Regions from separate parts of the Homo sapiens genome. Here regions 2 and 3 are each linked to region 1. Evidence: promoter capture Hi-C in 16 types of primary human blood cells and fetal thymus (Javierre and others, 2016). All regions are on one chromosome and are shown on one strand. Each heading gives the region's core, a stretch centred on a gene start or on the middle of the fragment in contact. The rest is flanking DNA. Distances are from core to core; before and after follow the strand shown.

What was found. Contacts are between HindIII fragments. The CHiCAGO score rates a contact against its expected background, and 5 or more counts as called.
Region 2: a fragment that was not itself captured here is called in contact with the fragment with the promoter of PNPT1 in region 1 in 1 of 17 cell types (M2 macrophages); the score reaches 10.9 in M2 macrophages.
Region 3: a contact is called between a fragment that was not itself captured here and the fragment with the promoter of PNPT1 in region 1, in 1 of 17 cell types (non-activated CD4 T cells). The highest score is 6.6, in non-activated CD4 T cells.

The regions. Positions count from the first base shown.
Region 1 is chr2:55,691,389-55,696,223 of GRCh38, forward strand. PNPT1 (polyribonucleotide nucleotidyltransferase 1) reads right to left here and starts at 2,456. Exons shown (of 28, transcript NM_033109.5): 1 at 2,275-2,456. The coding sequence starts at 2,435. RefSeq lists a silencer at 1,646-1,705 and enhancers at 2,276-2,395, 2,406-2,465, 2,496-2,645. The HindIII fragment of the contact is 6,564 bases long and covers 1-4,835 here.
Region 2 is chr2:57,466,564-57,471,398 of GRCh38, forward strand. No RefSeq gene overlaps it. Among named protein-coding and RNA genes, the nearest start is that of VRK2, 580 kb to the right of the region's middle. The HindIII fragment of the contact is 281 bases long and covers 1,858-2,138 here.
Region 3 is chr2:54,107,880-54,112,714 of GRCh38, forward strand. LOC105374615 (a long non-coding RNA gene) reads left to right here. Exons shown (of 2, transcript XR_940093.1): 2 at 1-1,112. It also overlaps a transcript of ACYP2 not described here. Among named protein-coding and RNA genes, the nearest start is that of ACYP2, 5.3 kb to the right of the region's middle. The HindIII fragment of the contact is 4,296 bases long and covers 139-4,434 here.

The sequences.
Region 1 (4,835 bases), core at 1,206-3,705:
ATATAATGTGCCTGGTACATAGTAGTCACTCAATAAATGTTGCCAATGGCAAACAAGACAAAAATGAAAGAATTTATCCAGCAGGTATGATATTTTATTAGTCTAGTTATTTCAACACATGACACGAGTTTAAAAAGAACTACCTACAAAAGAGGAACAGGTTGATTAATAAATGAAAGAGTCAAAGTAGATTATTTATGGAAAATATGGAGGGCAGCAGCTGCATCTTGTTTTCAGTATCTAATGCCTATCTCACAGTATGTGTCTGTTGAATGAAATGTTCTGGGCATTTCTTTGAAGCATGTGTAGTCCTTGAAGAATGGAAGAGATGTCCACTTCCCTCAAAAATCAGAATTAATGAATGCTGGGAGTGGAATAAGCCTTAGAGATAACCTAGTCTAGGGGTGACCAAACTACAGCTTGTGGCCTATTTCTATATTACTCTTCAATTAAAAATGTTTATATATATATATATATATATATATATATATTTTTTTTTTTTTTTTTTTTTTTTGAGACAAAAGTTTCACTCTTATCACCCAGGCTGGAGTGCAATGGCACGATCTCTGCCACTGCAACCTCTGCCTCCTGGGTTCAACCGATTCTCCTGCCTCAGCCTCCCAGGTAAATGGAATTACAGGTGCTTGCCACCACGCCCAGCTAATTTTGTATTTTTAGTAAAGACGGGGTTTCACCATTGTAGCCAGGCTGGTCTCGAACTCCTGACCTCAGGAGATCCACCCACCTCAGCCTCCCAAAGTGCTCGGATTACAGGTGTTAGCCACTGTGCTCGGCCGTTTTTTAAAATATTTCTAAAGGGTTTGTAAACACATACACACAGTGTGTACCCCAAAAAGCCTAATATATATATTATCTGGTCCTTTATAGAAAAGTTTGCAGACCCTTGATGGAATCCACTCTCCACACTTTGCACAAGAAAATGGTGAATTAACCTGTTCAATGTCAACTACTTATCAAAGTTAGAGTGCGAGACCTGGATTCAAAATGATTTTTTTGCTTTTTGTATGAACTGGGGTCCAAATTTTTTCAAAGTACACGTAAAAAATTTAGATATATGAAGTTTGCATTAGCAATTCCATTTATTCTAAGAACGATTAAAGCAAACTTTTTTTTTAAAAAGCGGTCCCCTAAAAAAAAGTATGGGCTTTGTAAGCAAAAAACAGAAATTCAAAAACCACCTAGTCCCATAATACTAACTTTTTTATAGACTCTTAGAAAGTTATCTAACCTTTTTTGAGCCTCTGTAGTCTTAACTATAAAATGAGGGTAATAGTACCTTTACGACAGGTTTAAAAAGATTGCGAGGATCATATAACTGGCGTTCAAAAAACTGACTTTTCCTTTTCCTCCTAACCCAGGGTCATAGTGGTCACACTTTAGGCAATCAATTAGATTGGATGACATGATATCTTGTACTCCTAACTTCAAGTCATCCTTCCGTCTTAGCCTCCCAAAGTGCTGGGATTACAGGTGTGAGCGCCTGACCTTTTGCCATCTCTTTGCATCGATCTTTGCTTTTGTTTCTCTCTGTGTGTCTCCTTGCCTCTCTCCCTGTCACTGTCTCTCTCTCTCCCCTGCCTCCCTCTTGGTCTCTTTTTTTTGCTGTCTCTTTCTGATGACCTTGTTCCCATCTCTGTGCGTGTGTGGCTCTCTCCCTGTCCATCTCTTACCATCTCTGCCTTCCTCTCCCAGGTCTTAAACGAATATTTCCACAATGTCTGTGAACTGGACCTGGTGTTCAACTTCTACAAGGTAGGCTCCTGGTGAAGAGGAGGCTGAAGGAGCCCGAGGAGTGGGACGTGGGGGACCCGTGGTGCACTAGCCACCCGGAGCCTCTGCTGAGGTCTGTGTCCCAGCTCGAGGGGCATCAGAGCCCCAGCTTCCAGGGTCCGGGCCAGCATCCCGGGGGGCCTCGTCTCACCCACGTCAACTCGTTATTCCTAGGTGGAATGTTTCCCACTTAAGAGCCCAGTGGTCCCGGAAAGTAAAGAGATCGGAAGTCAGGTGGACGGACAGAGTCGGATGGAGCAAAGAAGCCCGGCACACACCAACAGAGAGAACGACATAGCGCGGGAAGGAGGGTCCGAGGAGACACATTCCAAACCCGGAAAGGGAAATTTGGAATTTAGGTTTAGGGTAAGGAGAGATTAAATAGAGCTGGGATACCGGGTTTCTACCCTGGGAGATGAATACGCTCAAGCTGGCTGGACAAGACACCTTATGACAATACAGTGAACGCACGTCACTCCTTACCTGTTGCCTAAGTCCACGGCCACAGCTCGAGACCCTGCGCTACTCCATAGTGCTCGCACTTGCAACTGGGTGAGTGCCCGATCCCGCCGTGGCAGAAGGAAAGGACCATCGCTCAGGGGCCGGAGCCGGAGGCACGAGCAGCAGTACCTGCAGGCCGCCATGACACCCGGCACGCGGTCAACGCAGGCTGTGCCCTGATTGGCTCACTCCGCAGACCGTGGGGCGGAGCCTGATGGAGTTTCGTTTCCGCGGTGCCCGAGGGACGCCGGGGTAACGGAAACCTTGGCCACCTTCTACGAAGACTAGAGAGGGTCAAACCTATCAGAACGCGATTATGTTGCAAACGATCTTTGTCTTTATGTGCCAACGAAAGGCAATTAGATAAATAAGGTTTTTGTGTGTGTACTATCGTAATTTAAAGGAGAAGTCCTAGAATAATGTAAATGTTTAATATGCAGAGTAAATTTATATTTACTTTTAATACTAGAAGTCATAGAACAACACATTATTATTATTTGGATCTGTGAACTAAGAATTAGAATTTGGGTGGTGGGCCTTGGAAAGAGATCTCCTTCTCCCCTTCTCCGCCCTGGTTTTTATTTTAAAAATTTCACATAGCAGATATGTTACTACAGCGATTTGTGTTAACCAATTTACAGTAAATTCATTTTTCATCGACTTGTAATTTTAGAAATCTTTATTGTCACTTCTGATTCATTTTCATTTCCATTGCTAATAATTAGCAATTTATATTTCTGTCCCTTTTGGTCGAACTCTTAAATGCAAAATGCCAGCTACTGTTTGAAGTAAATATTTTGTAAAATGAAAAAAAAAAGTTTTTGGGATTTGAAAAATTTTTAGAGAATGGATAAATTTCTTCCACCCCATTAATCCATTCTGTTAGAAATTCTTTATGTTTTTCCTTGAATGAACCAATGGGCATTTTCATATTATGATGTAAATTTTTTGTGTAAGGTGATAACCGCCTTACCCCAAAGAAAACCAAACAACAAAAACCCAACACTCATTCAAACACAGTTTTAAGAATTAAAAACGTTGGCTGGACGCTGTGGCTCACGCCTGTAATCCCAGCACTTTGGGAGGCCGAGGCGGGCGGATCACCTGAGTTCGAGACCAGCCTGACCAACACAGAGAAACCCCGTCTCTACTAAAAATACAAAACTAGCCGGGCATGGTGGCTTATGCCTGTAATCCCAGCTACTCGGGAGGCTGAGGCAGGGGAATCGCTTGAACCCGGGAGGCGGAGGTTGCAGTGAGCCGAGATCGCGTCATTGCAACAAGAGTGAAACTCGGTCTCAAAAAAAAAAAAAAAAAAAAAAAAAAAAAAAGTCCGGGCGCAGTGGCTCATGCCTGTAATCCCAGCACGCTGGGAGGCAGAGGCGGGTGGATCACGAGGTCAAGAGACCCAGGGCATCCTGGCCAACATGCTGAAACCGCGTCTCTACTAAAAATACAAAAATTAGCTCGGTGTGGTGGCGCGTGCCTGTAATCCCAGCTACTCCAGAGGCTGAGGCATGAGAATCGCTTGAATCCAGGAGGCGGAGGTTGCAGTGAGCCGAGATCGCGCCACTGCACTCCAGACCGAGACTCCATCTAAAAAAAAAAAAAAAAAAAAAAAAAATTAAAAATGTTGATCCGTGATGATTTAAAAAAGAAAAAAGAATGATGAGCTCTAAACAGACAAATGATTTGCTGGCAAAGCAGTTTTCTGACACCTTGCTTTCATGAGCTATTATTACTGATTTGGGATTTCCATTCCAATAGAGGGATTACCATTAACTTTGTTTACAGATTTTTAGTGTTAAAGCAGTTTTTGCGTCTCCTCCCTTTTACTTTACCTTGAGTTGCCACAGAGTTTTCCAGACCAATCTATTGAAATCTCTCATGAAGATAAATCTCTCAGAAAACCTACTTGCCACAATTGAACATGACTTTTGATTTATAGAGTAAGAATACAAAATCATCTTTTTGTTAATATACTTAATTACTATGTAATCATTTTCATTTGGGCAGTATTGCCTAATAGTTTAGAGCATAGACTTGGAGTTAGTCCCAGCTGGTTCCAATCTTGTCTCTGTTAATTACCAGTTGTGTGACTCTAGCTCTCTGAGCCTCAGTTTCCCCATAAAAACAGATAGTAATATGAATCTAATAGGGTTTTTGTAAGGATTAAAAGTGTCGGCCGGGCGCGGTGGCTCACGCCTGTAATCCTAGCACTTTGGGAGGCCGAGGCGGGTGGATCATGAGGTCAGGAGATTGAGACCATCCTGGCTAACAAGGTGAAACCCCGTCTCTACTAAAAATACAAAAAATTAGCCGGGCGCGGTAGCGGGCGCCTGTAGTCCCAGCTACTCGGGAGGCTGAGGCAGGAGAATGGCGTGAACCCGGGAAGCGGAGCTTGCAGTGAGCCGAGATTGCGCCACTGCAGTCCGCAGTCCGGCCTGGGCGACAGAGCGAGACTCCGTCTCAAAAAAAAAAAAAAAAAAAAAAGTGTCAGATGATATAATAGTACCTAGCACATTGTCAACACTCAATAAATG
Region 2 (4,835 bases), core at 748-3,247, 1.8 Mb after region 1:
TACTTGATGTTCAGCTCCCACTTATAAATGAGAACATGCAGTATTTGGTTATCTGTTTCTGTATTAGTTCACTTAGGATAATGGCCTCCAGCTGCATCCATGTTACTGCAAAGAACATGATTTCATTCTTTTTATGGTTCCATAGTATTCCATGGTATAAATGTACCACATATTCTTTATCCAATCCAGAGTTGATTGGCATCTAGCAAATGTCTTTGCTATTGTGAATAGCACTGTGATGAACGTATGGGTACGTGTGTCTTTTTGGTAGAATGACCAGATTCACAGATTGGTTTCCTTTGGGTACATACCTGATAGTGGAATCACTGCATCCAATTATAGTTTAACTCTTAGTTCTCTGAGAAACCTCCAAACTGCTCCCCCGAGTGTCTGGACTAATTTACATTCCCACAAGCAGTGTATAAGTATCCCTCTTTCTCCACAGCCTTGCCAGTATCTGTGACTTTCGGACATTTTAGCAAAACCCATTCTGAGTGGTGTGAGATGGTATCCCATTGTGGCTTTGATCTGGATTTCTCTGATGATTAGTGATTATGAGCATTTTAAAAATATATTTGTTGGCTGCTTGTATGTTTTCTTTTGAGAAGTGTGTGTTTGTGCCCTTTTGCCTGCTTTTTAATGGGGTATGTTTCTTGCTTGTTGATTTAAGTTGCTTATAGATTCTGGATATTAGGCCTTTGTCAGATGCATAGTTTGCAAATATTTTCTCCCATTCTATAGGTTGTCTGTTTACTCTCTTTAGTTTCTCTTGCTGTGCAGACACTCTTTAGTTTAATTAGGTCCTATTTGTCAATGTGTTGTTGTTGTAGTTGCTTTTGAGGATTTAGCCATAAATTTTTTGCTAGGGCCAATATTGAGAAGGAGTTTTTCTATGTTTTCTTCTAGAATCTTTTTTTTTTAATTTAACTTTTAAGTTCAGGGGTACATGTGCAGGCTTGTTATATAGGTAAACTTGTATCATGGGGGTTTGTTGTACAGATTATTTTGTCACCCAGGTATTAAGCCTTGTACCCATTAGTTATTTTTCCTGTCTAACATTTGTCTTTAATCTGACTTCCATTAATTTTTGTATAGGGTGAAAGGTAGAGATCCAGTTTCCTTCTTCGGCATATGGATAGCCAGTCATCCTAGCACCATTTATTGAATGAGGAGTCTTTTCCCCATTGTTTATTTTTGTTGACTTTGTCAATGATCAGATTGTTTTAGGTGTGCAGATTTATTTCTGGCTTCTCTATTCTGTTCCATTGGTCTACCTGTCTGTTTTTGGAACAGTGCCATGCTGTTTTGGTTACAGCAGCCTTGCAGTATAGTTTCAGGTCAGGTAACATGATGCCTCTGACTTTGTTTTTTTTTTTGCTTAGGATTGCTTTGGCTCTTAGGGCTCTTTTTATTCCACAAAAATTTTAGAATCTTTTTTTTTTCTTAATCTGTGAAAAATGACATTGGTAGTTTGTTAGGAATAGCGCTGAATTTGTAAATTGCTTTGGGCAGTATGGCCATTTTCATGATATTTATTCTTCCTACCCATGAGCATGAAAATACCTAGGAATACAGCTAAGCAAAAAGGTGAAAAATCTCTACAATGACAATTACAAAACACTGATGAAAGAAATCAGAGATGATGCAACAAATAGAGGTGACAGTTTTAAGAAGCTCTAATATCTAACTATGGTGGATAGAGAGTATAAGGAGCTAACCTAGGGTATAAATTGAACTTCAACCTTAAGGTCTATCCATGGAGATTAACTTCCTGAGAAAATGTTATCATGAACTTAATGAATATAAGCTACCAAGCATTGGAATAGCAATTTCAAAGATATTTCTCCTTTGTGTATAAGCTTCATTTAGTGGGGGGTCTACATTCCATGAAAATTTGTGAACTGGAATATCCCTAGTGATTATAGAAACCACAGTCTTCATTGCCTATCAATATGTTTGGTTAAACTATATTCACAGAGATAATTTAATTGCAAATGAATGTAACTTAGTTGTTTTCTAATCTGAAATCATTTTTAGGATATTTTAAAAATATACATGTCACATACTTAATTTTTATGAGGGCATAAAAATAACAACACATATCTTGGATATTTTATCATACTTTTAAAAAACATTTAAGCTTGACTCCACATTTTCTCTTTTCCCTGAACCTACATTAGCTCACCTGTACCCTAAATTTCATAATTCCTACATATCCTTTATTTCCATTTTATTTCCCAGAAAATACATGTATGTATAACATATATGTATATATGTGTATACACACACACAATGTCTTAGTCTATCCAAGCTGCTATAACAAAATAATGTAAACTGGGTAGGCTATAAACACCAGAAATTTATTTATCACAATTCTGGGCTCTGAAAAGTCCAAATCTGAGGTAGATTTGGTGTCTGGTAAGGGCTTCCTTTCCAGCTTATAGGTGATGCCTTCTAGCTATGTTCTCCCATGTGCAGGGAGTGAGAAATCGCTCTCAGATCTCTTTTATAAGTACACTAATGTCATTCATGAGTGACCCACTCTCCTCATCTAATCATGTCCCAAAGACCTCATCTCCTAGTACTATCACCTTGAGGGTAGGATTTCAACATAAATTTTGGGGAGACATAAACATTCAGATCATAATACATCACACACACACACACACATACGTTACAAACACCTAGCCCAGCTGCATTTTTGGACAAGACACTAGAGAAAGAAAGAATCTTTGTAATTTGCAAGTGCTTTTAGTCTCATATATTACTTAATAATTTTGGAATTATTCTTTGAATACAGCATTTTCTTCTAAAGGAATGCCTGTTTATGTTAGTAAATTTTTTAAACAAATCACATATTCCTCACTATAAGAGAAAAATCAAGGTGATTATGTATTAAATTCTCACATATACAATGGAGTCTGCTTTTGAACATGACTGGATTCCACTGATCAATTTGTCTATTGCTAGTTTACATCAATACCACCTTAATTTTATTAATGTGGTTTTATATTATGTTCTAATATCTAGTTCTCTTTTTTATATATTGTAACTTATTTCCTTCTCATATTTTCCTATCACATATTAGATATTTGTTTTTTCTTACAATTTTAAAATAAATTTTGCAGTTAGGTTATTTTACTTTTGTATTTACTGCAATCAGTGTTAGAATACTTGTGGTTATGACATTTTGATCTAGTTTCTGATTTTAATTGAAATGCAGTTGGAGTTACTGATTTGGGATAATATTTTCCACTATTGTTGGTAAACTGTCTTTCTTACAGTTAAGTGGGTCTCTACTTTTATGGATTACTTAGAGTTTTTAAAATTAGGAATGTGTTTCTTAATTTTCTCAAATACCCTTTCAACCTTTATATCTGTAATCTTGTGCTTTTTCTATTTTGTATTTATTTTTTTTGAGACAGAATCTCTCTCCGTCACCCAGGCTGGAGTGCAGTGGCGTGATCGTGGCTCATGCAACCTCCGCCTCCCGGGTTCAAGCGATTCTCCTACCTCAGCCTCCCGAATAGCTGGGATTACAGGCATGGGCCACTACACCTGGCTAATTTTTGTATTTTTAGTAGAGACAGGGTTTTGCCATGTTGGCCAGGCTGGTCTTGAACTCCTGACTTCAGGTGATCCGCCTGCCTCGACCTCCCAAAGTGTTGGGATTACAGGCGTGAGCCACTGTGCCTGGCAATCTTGTGCTTTTTCTTTGTGTTGCACATGTCTTTGGGTGTCTTATTTTCTTAATAAGTCATCTAGTGGTAGATCAAATAAAATTTTATTTTTAAGTAAGGAATAAATGAGGGTGGTTTAAAGTCATTAAATAACTTTTTATGAAGAATAACCCTATGCTCTTTCACAATAAAGAGGCAAGGGCCAAGAAAATTTGGACCATGGCACTTTCATTTATGGCAAATAATACTGCTAGAAGTAGATAATCGGCTGGGCTTCTTTGACTTCATTTCTGTTTCAAAGAGAATTAGTCAGTCTTCCAAATTCCCTCTTTTTTTTTATTTCTATCATAGTTCAAGTACAATATAATTTAAGTATATGTTAGTATATTTCCATCTCACAGTAAAACATGTATCCTTAGGGGCAAAGTTCTCTTTTTCTCTGTACATATCAGTGTTTAGCACCCTGCCCCAGCACGTAATAGCTGTTCAACAAACAGTTGTTGAATAATAGAGCTGTTATTCTATTTATTTCTTGTCTTTAGAATGGCAGAATGAGAAAGAAATGTTGAATAAACATAGGTATGTATTTTGATGGCTGTCTTCTTAAAAGTTAAGTCTTTTCTAAGAGAGTTTAAAAGTTAACTCACTCTCTGAGGAATTAGGAATGTTGTTCTGCTGACAAGGAAAAATTTGCTGTGATTCTGGCTGAGCCATAATGAATTCTGTACCATCTGTTAAGGATTAACAAGAAATAGAAAACCAATGGATGGTAAGTGTACTTAGATCACATATCTAATCAATAAGCATCTTCAATCTACTTGAAATGTCTGTAAATATAAAGTCTTAATTGCTGCTTTATATTTAGTATTGTAGAAAACGAATCAAAGCTTCAGCAACTTCTCCCAGAAAGTAGTACTCAAAGTATCCTCACCAGGGAAACTGGGCTTTTGGACAAAGATTTTATAGAAAGTTAAGATTGTATGAGCCAAATAACAAAAAAGCTAGTACATTTACCTGATTTAAACAGTCAGGCTGGTAGTTTAGTGTCAACTGCTTGAATCTTTTCATTGATTGTCAGTGTATATTTTGTGTATAAATGAAATAAGAACATGCAGAATTCCGATATTTCCTAGGATTTTACCTCAATCCTTAATA
Region 3 (4,835 bases), core at 1,037-3,536, 1.6 Mb before region 1:
AATAGGAAACCATTTGCTGAATTGGGAAGTTGTTGCTATAGCTGCTGGATTCAAAACAATGCATCCCCTGCCATCATCAGAAGCTGCCATGCTCTGGAAACTGCCACATCCAAAAAGCTGCCACTCCGGGACCCGCCAAGCTTGCTATGATATTAATTAGTAAAACAGATGTCCTGTGCCCTGCCTCTTGGTGCCCCACAAGCCAGTGAACAGTCAGTTAACAATGGCACAGAATAACTAAACTCCTCCGCGACTGTGCTTATCACAGAACCAGCAGCAGATGGCCCCTGCCTCACTCATACCCTCCCTCCACATCTACAATTTTAATTCTGCTGGTGGAAACTCTATCACATGAGGAATCTTAATTGCAAGAATGTCCAGGGTTTGTAGCTTTAAACTTCCCAGCCCTACAGAAACAGAAAGTCCAGCTAGAAAGAGATTGCAATGGATGTGTGTACCAATCCACTGTTTCACCAAGGACATCATGAAGTAGATGAGTTATTTTAAAGACACGAAGGCCCTTGTTGTCACACTAGCCCAGACCTGCGGGTAAATCTGAGTCAAGCCCTTTCGGGAGTTTAAGTGTGTGTGAACTAAGAAGAAATCAGGACGAATCTCTTCCCCGGATAGGCTCCTTGCTTCCATAGGAAAAGCAAACCTGATACCAGCTGAAGTCCACGCCTGGGGGATATTAGGAAGGGAGGGGTCTGTGTTGCCTACTTTTTGTCTGAGCTGGTGGCTGGCCCTTTTTCCCCCGAGTTGGTGGCTGGCCCTTTTTCGCCTTCCCTGTCTTGTTGTGATAGCTCATAGTCTGGGCACACTCTGTTCAAAATCTGACTTTGCCATTTTTTGCCTCCTTGGTGTGTCCAAGCAGTGGCATCTGTGATTAGTTGCCTCCTGATGTAATATTAACTTTACCTTTTTCTCACTCAATACCTTCAGATGCCTACTTCCTGTTTTCTAAAGGACTCAATGCTAATTATAATGATATTTTCCTTTACTTTTCCTTACTTCTAGATATATTCTTTTGCATTTTATATTATTTCTTCCTCTGGAAATGAACTATTTCTGTAATACATTCTTTTCATTAATAAAGGTTTTAGTATATTTGATTATCTACTTGTTCTTCTTTATGCCAGTTCAGATATGCTTTAGTGCTTTGAAAGTTAACTGTTTGGTCCTATCTATGCCTGAGCATGACTTCAGGGTTGCCTCGAAATTTAAATTATATGCCCACAATTCACAATTGCAAAAATATGGAACCAGCCCAAACGCCCATCAATCAATGAGTAGATAAAGAAAATGTGGTATACATATATATGCACATATACCATGGAATACTACTCAGCCATAAAAAGAAATGAAATAATGGCATTCACAGCAACCTGGATGGAACTGGAAACTATCGTTCTAAGTGAAGTAACCCAGGAATAGAAAACTAAATATCGTATGTTCTCACTGATAAGTGGAAGCTAAGCTATGAGGATGCAAAGGCATAAAAATGACACAGTGGACTTTGGATACTCGGGGGAAAGGGTGGGAGGGGGTGAGGGATAAAAAAACTGCATATTGGGTACAGCGTACACTGCTTGAGGGATGGGTGCACCAAAATCTCAGAAATCACCACTAAAGAACTTATTCATGTAACCAAACATCACATGTTCCCCCAAACCTATTGAGATAAAACATAAATTTAAAAATAAAAAAAATTATATGCCTGTATACTGAAATGGTGAATCTGCTCATGCACCACATTGAGAAATTATTTTGAAATGTTATTATGAAAACATATAATAGGATACTAAAATAAACTTTCAGAAAGTAAAATTTTAATTTTAGAATAGTTGTTGATTAAAAAAATTATTGTGAATATAGTAGAGTTCCCATATGCCCCACATTCAGTTACCCTATTATTAATATCTTAATATTAATAAATAGTATTTTCTACCATTGTTAATGATAAATGGTATATTTGTTGCAATTAATGAACCAATATCAATATCTCATTATTAACTAAAGTTTGTACTTTATTCAGATGTCCTCAGTTTTCACCTCAAGTTCTTTTTCTGTCCCACGATCCCACCAAGGATACTAACATTGCATCTAGTCATCAGGTCTCCTTAGGCTCCTGGTAGATGCTTCTCAGGCTTTCTCTGTTTCTGATGACCTTGACAGTTTTGAGGATTACTAGTCAGGCATTTCGTAGAATTAAATTATATTCTCTTCAATTTTTAATTTTATTTTTAAACTTCACGTAAGCATTTTAAACACACACAAAATTAGAGAATAGTATAATGAATCCCCATCTACCCAAGACCCAGCTTCAAAACTGTCACCATTTCCAAGTTTATTCTATCTAAACTGTCCTACCTGCCAACCCTGAGGATTTTAAATCAAGCGCCAAATATTATATCATAGTACCCTTATGTATTTCAGTACATGCCTCTAACAGATAAGGCCTTTAAAGAATATACCCACGATGCCGTTATCACAGTGACAAAGTTAATGATGATTCTGTAATGTTTAGTAGTCAGCCTACATTCAAAGTTCCCCAATGGTCTAAAAAATGTCTTGTTCAAGTTTACGTACTCAAATCAGGATCCAAACAAGGTATATGTATTGAATTCTGTTGATTTGAAAAACAGGACTTTTATCTCTGCTTTAGCTGAGACCTGGGACTGAAAACAAAACCATAGTTATAGCTACATTTTGAGATGAGGTGCTAAACTCCCTGTGTTGTGCAAAAGGGGCATTTTAAAAGAGTTTTAAGATTTTTAGTCCAACACCCACCTCAGGATCCAGAGTATTTCTTTGGGGAAATGCAGTAGGGAACTGTGGCTTTTTTCCCTCCCACCGTGGGAGAGAGAAGCAAGGTGTCGCCCCATCACCCCAAGCTCAGTGAGACAGTCTTTAAGAAAACCTCTCTGAGAACTCGGTGTTTACTCCTTGGAGCTAGAAAGACACGTTGACCGATACCTGAGGAAAGGAAAGAGGAAAGGCTGTGGCTGGAGATGTCTGAAAAATGACTGCCAAGCAGAGCAAAGAGAGGTGGTTGAGTTCAGAGCAATCTGTGACTTCTATCACTGGTAGGGCAGAGATATGAGCCTCCATAACTAGATATGATGGGAGGGAGGGATGTGGTCCTGTGGTCAGTTTAAAATGGATCCCACCCAGATGGCCTTCTTGCTGGGGGCTAGTCTCTTTCAGCAGAAAGAGGTTGGAGGTGTAGCATTTAATACAGAAGCTGGGATGGGGCACTTAATACAGAAGCTGGGATACGGCTGTAGAGAGAACTGGCATAGCCTAACAAGGGAGCAGCAGTCAAGAATTCCAAGTGGGGTGAAGCTCTGAGTCCCTACAAAAAGAATCCTGCAAAATAAGTAGTCAGCTTTGAATATTCACCATTCCCAGAGAGCCTAAATGGATTTCAAAAGTACTTGTTTGTTCCCATTTTCAGCTAGGTAGGGGGAAACTAAGGCAAGGGCGGGGGGGACCAACCATGCCCTCTCCTCACTTCAGCATACTCAGTACCAAGCTGGGAGAGGGAAGACACTTTAATGTTACATATCCTTCTGACTTTTTAATATTAAATTGGACTGTGACAAAGAAAAATTGGTTCAAACCTGGGACAGAATCTCCTTCTGGAAAGAAATCTGCTTTGCTGATAGAACGCTTAAGCAATTTTCTGATAACTTGTAATAAGATTAAAGCCTCTTCTGGGAAACCAGCTACTTGCTCAGCTGACCAACAGTCTGCTGTCTAATAATTTTGAATCCAGTTTAGTAATAATTAAGCATTTATTTTACCTATAAAGTATTCCTTCCACAGGGAATCATTGAATGGAAGTTAACAATTTGTATCATGTTGGGTCCTGCACTTTCAACATAATGATTACAAAAATATTTCAGGGATAGAAATATGCCGATGGATAAAGTAATTTTGCTTGTCCTTAAAATCAATCATATCTTAATATCAAATTTCTGAGAAATAACTCTAGCAATCACTTTCAAATGACCCCATGTGGTGATGAATTTGAGAGTTACAGGCGGTACCTCCTCACTTCAAATGTCATTTGGACACAGAGTACTATCTATCCTTATTTCACAGGTTCTGTGTATTATCTATCCTTATTAGATATACACATATAGAGATGTGTATTATCTATCATATGTATTATTGTCATATATAGATAATACACACATGTAAATGTGTATTATCTATGCTTATTTTACAGATTCTGGTGCCTGGTCATCTTTTACAGTCATATTATATAAGCAGGATTTTCCCTTTCTATGTATTACCTTAAACATGATCCTAGATCACAAACCAATTGTCTTAAAGGGTTCAAAGAAGGGAATTAACAGGTTTTAATTTCAACCAGTAGTAACACAAAGCCTAGTTATTCCAAAGCTGTTGCTCAGGTTACAAAACCAAAGCTTCATATAATTTAATCATGCATTGTACGTGAAGGACCTGCATACATTTGTTTGTATAAAAAGCCAAATAATCATATACAGTCTTGGTAGTAATATATTTAAATTGGCACAGCCCTTCGAAAAACAGTTTGGCAATATATATCAAGAACAATACATGCTTATACCCTTGATTTGATATTCCAACTTCAATTAAAAATATGTGGGAAGGAAGCTACATGCATAAATATTTTCTTTTTTATGGTAGTGAAAAATGAGAAGCAGCCTGAATATGTAACAACAGGGACTCACAGTAGGTAAATGTGTGGTTTATCCACCTAATGTGATTTATTAAAATATTCATTGGAAAGACTACAACATGGAAAAGAAGAATAAAAGTTGCATTCATACTATAATTACTTA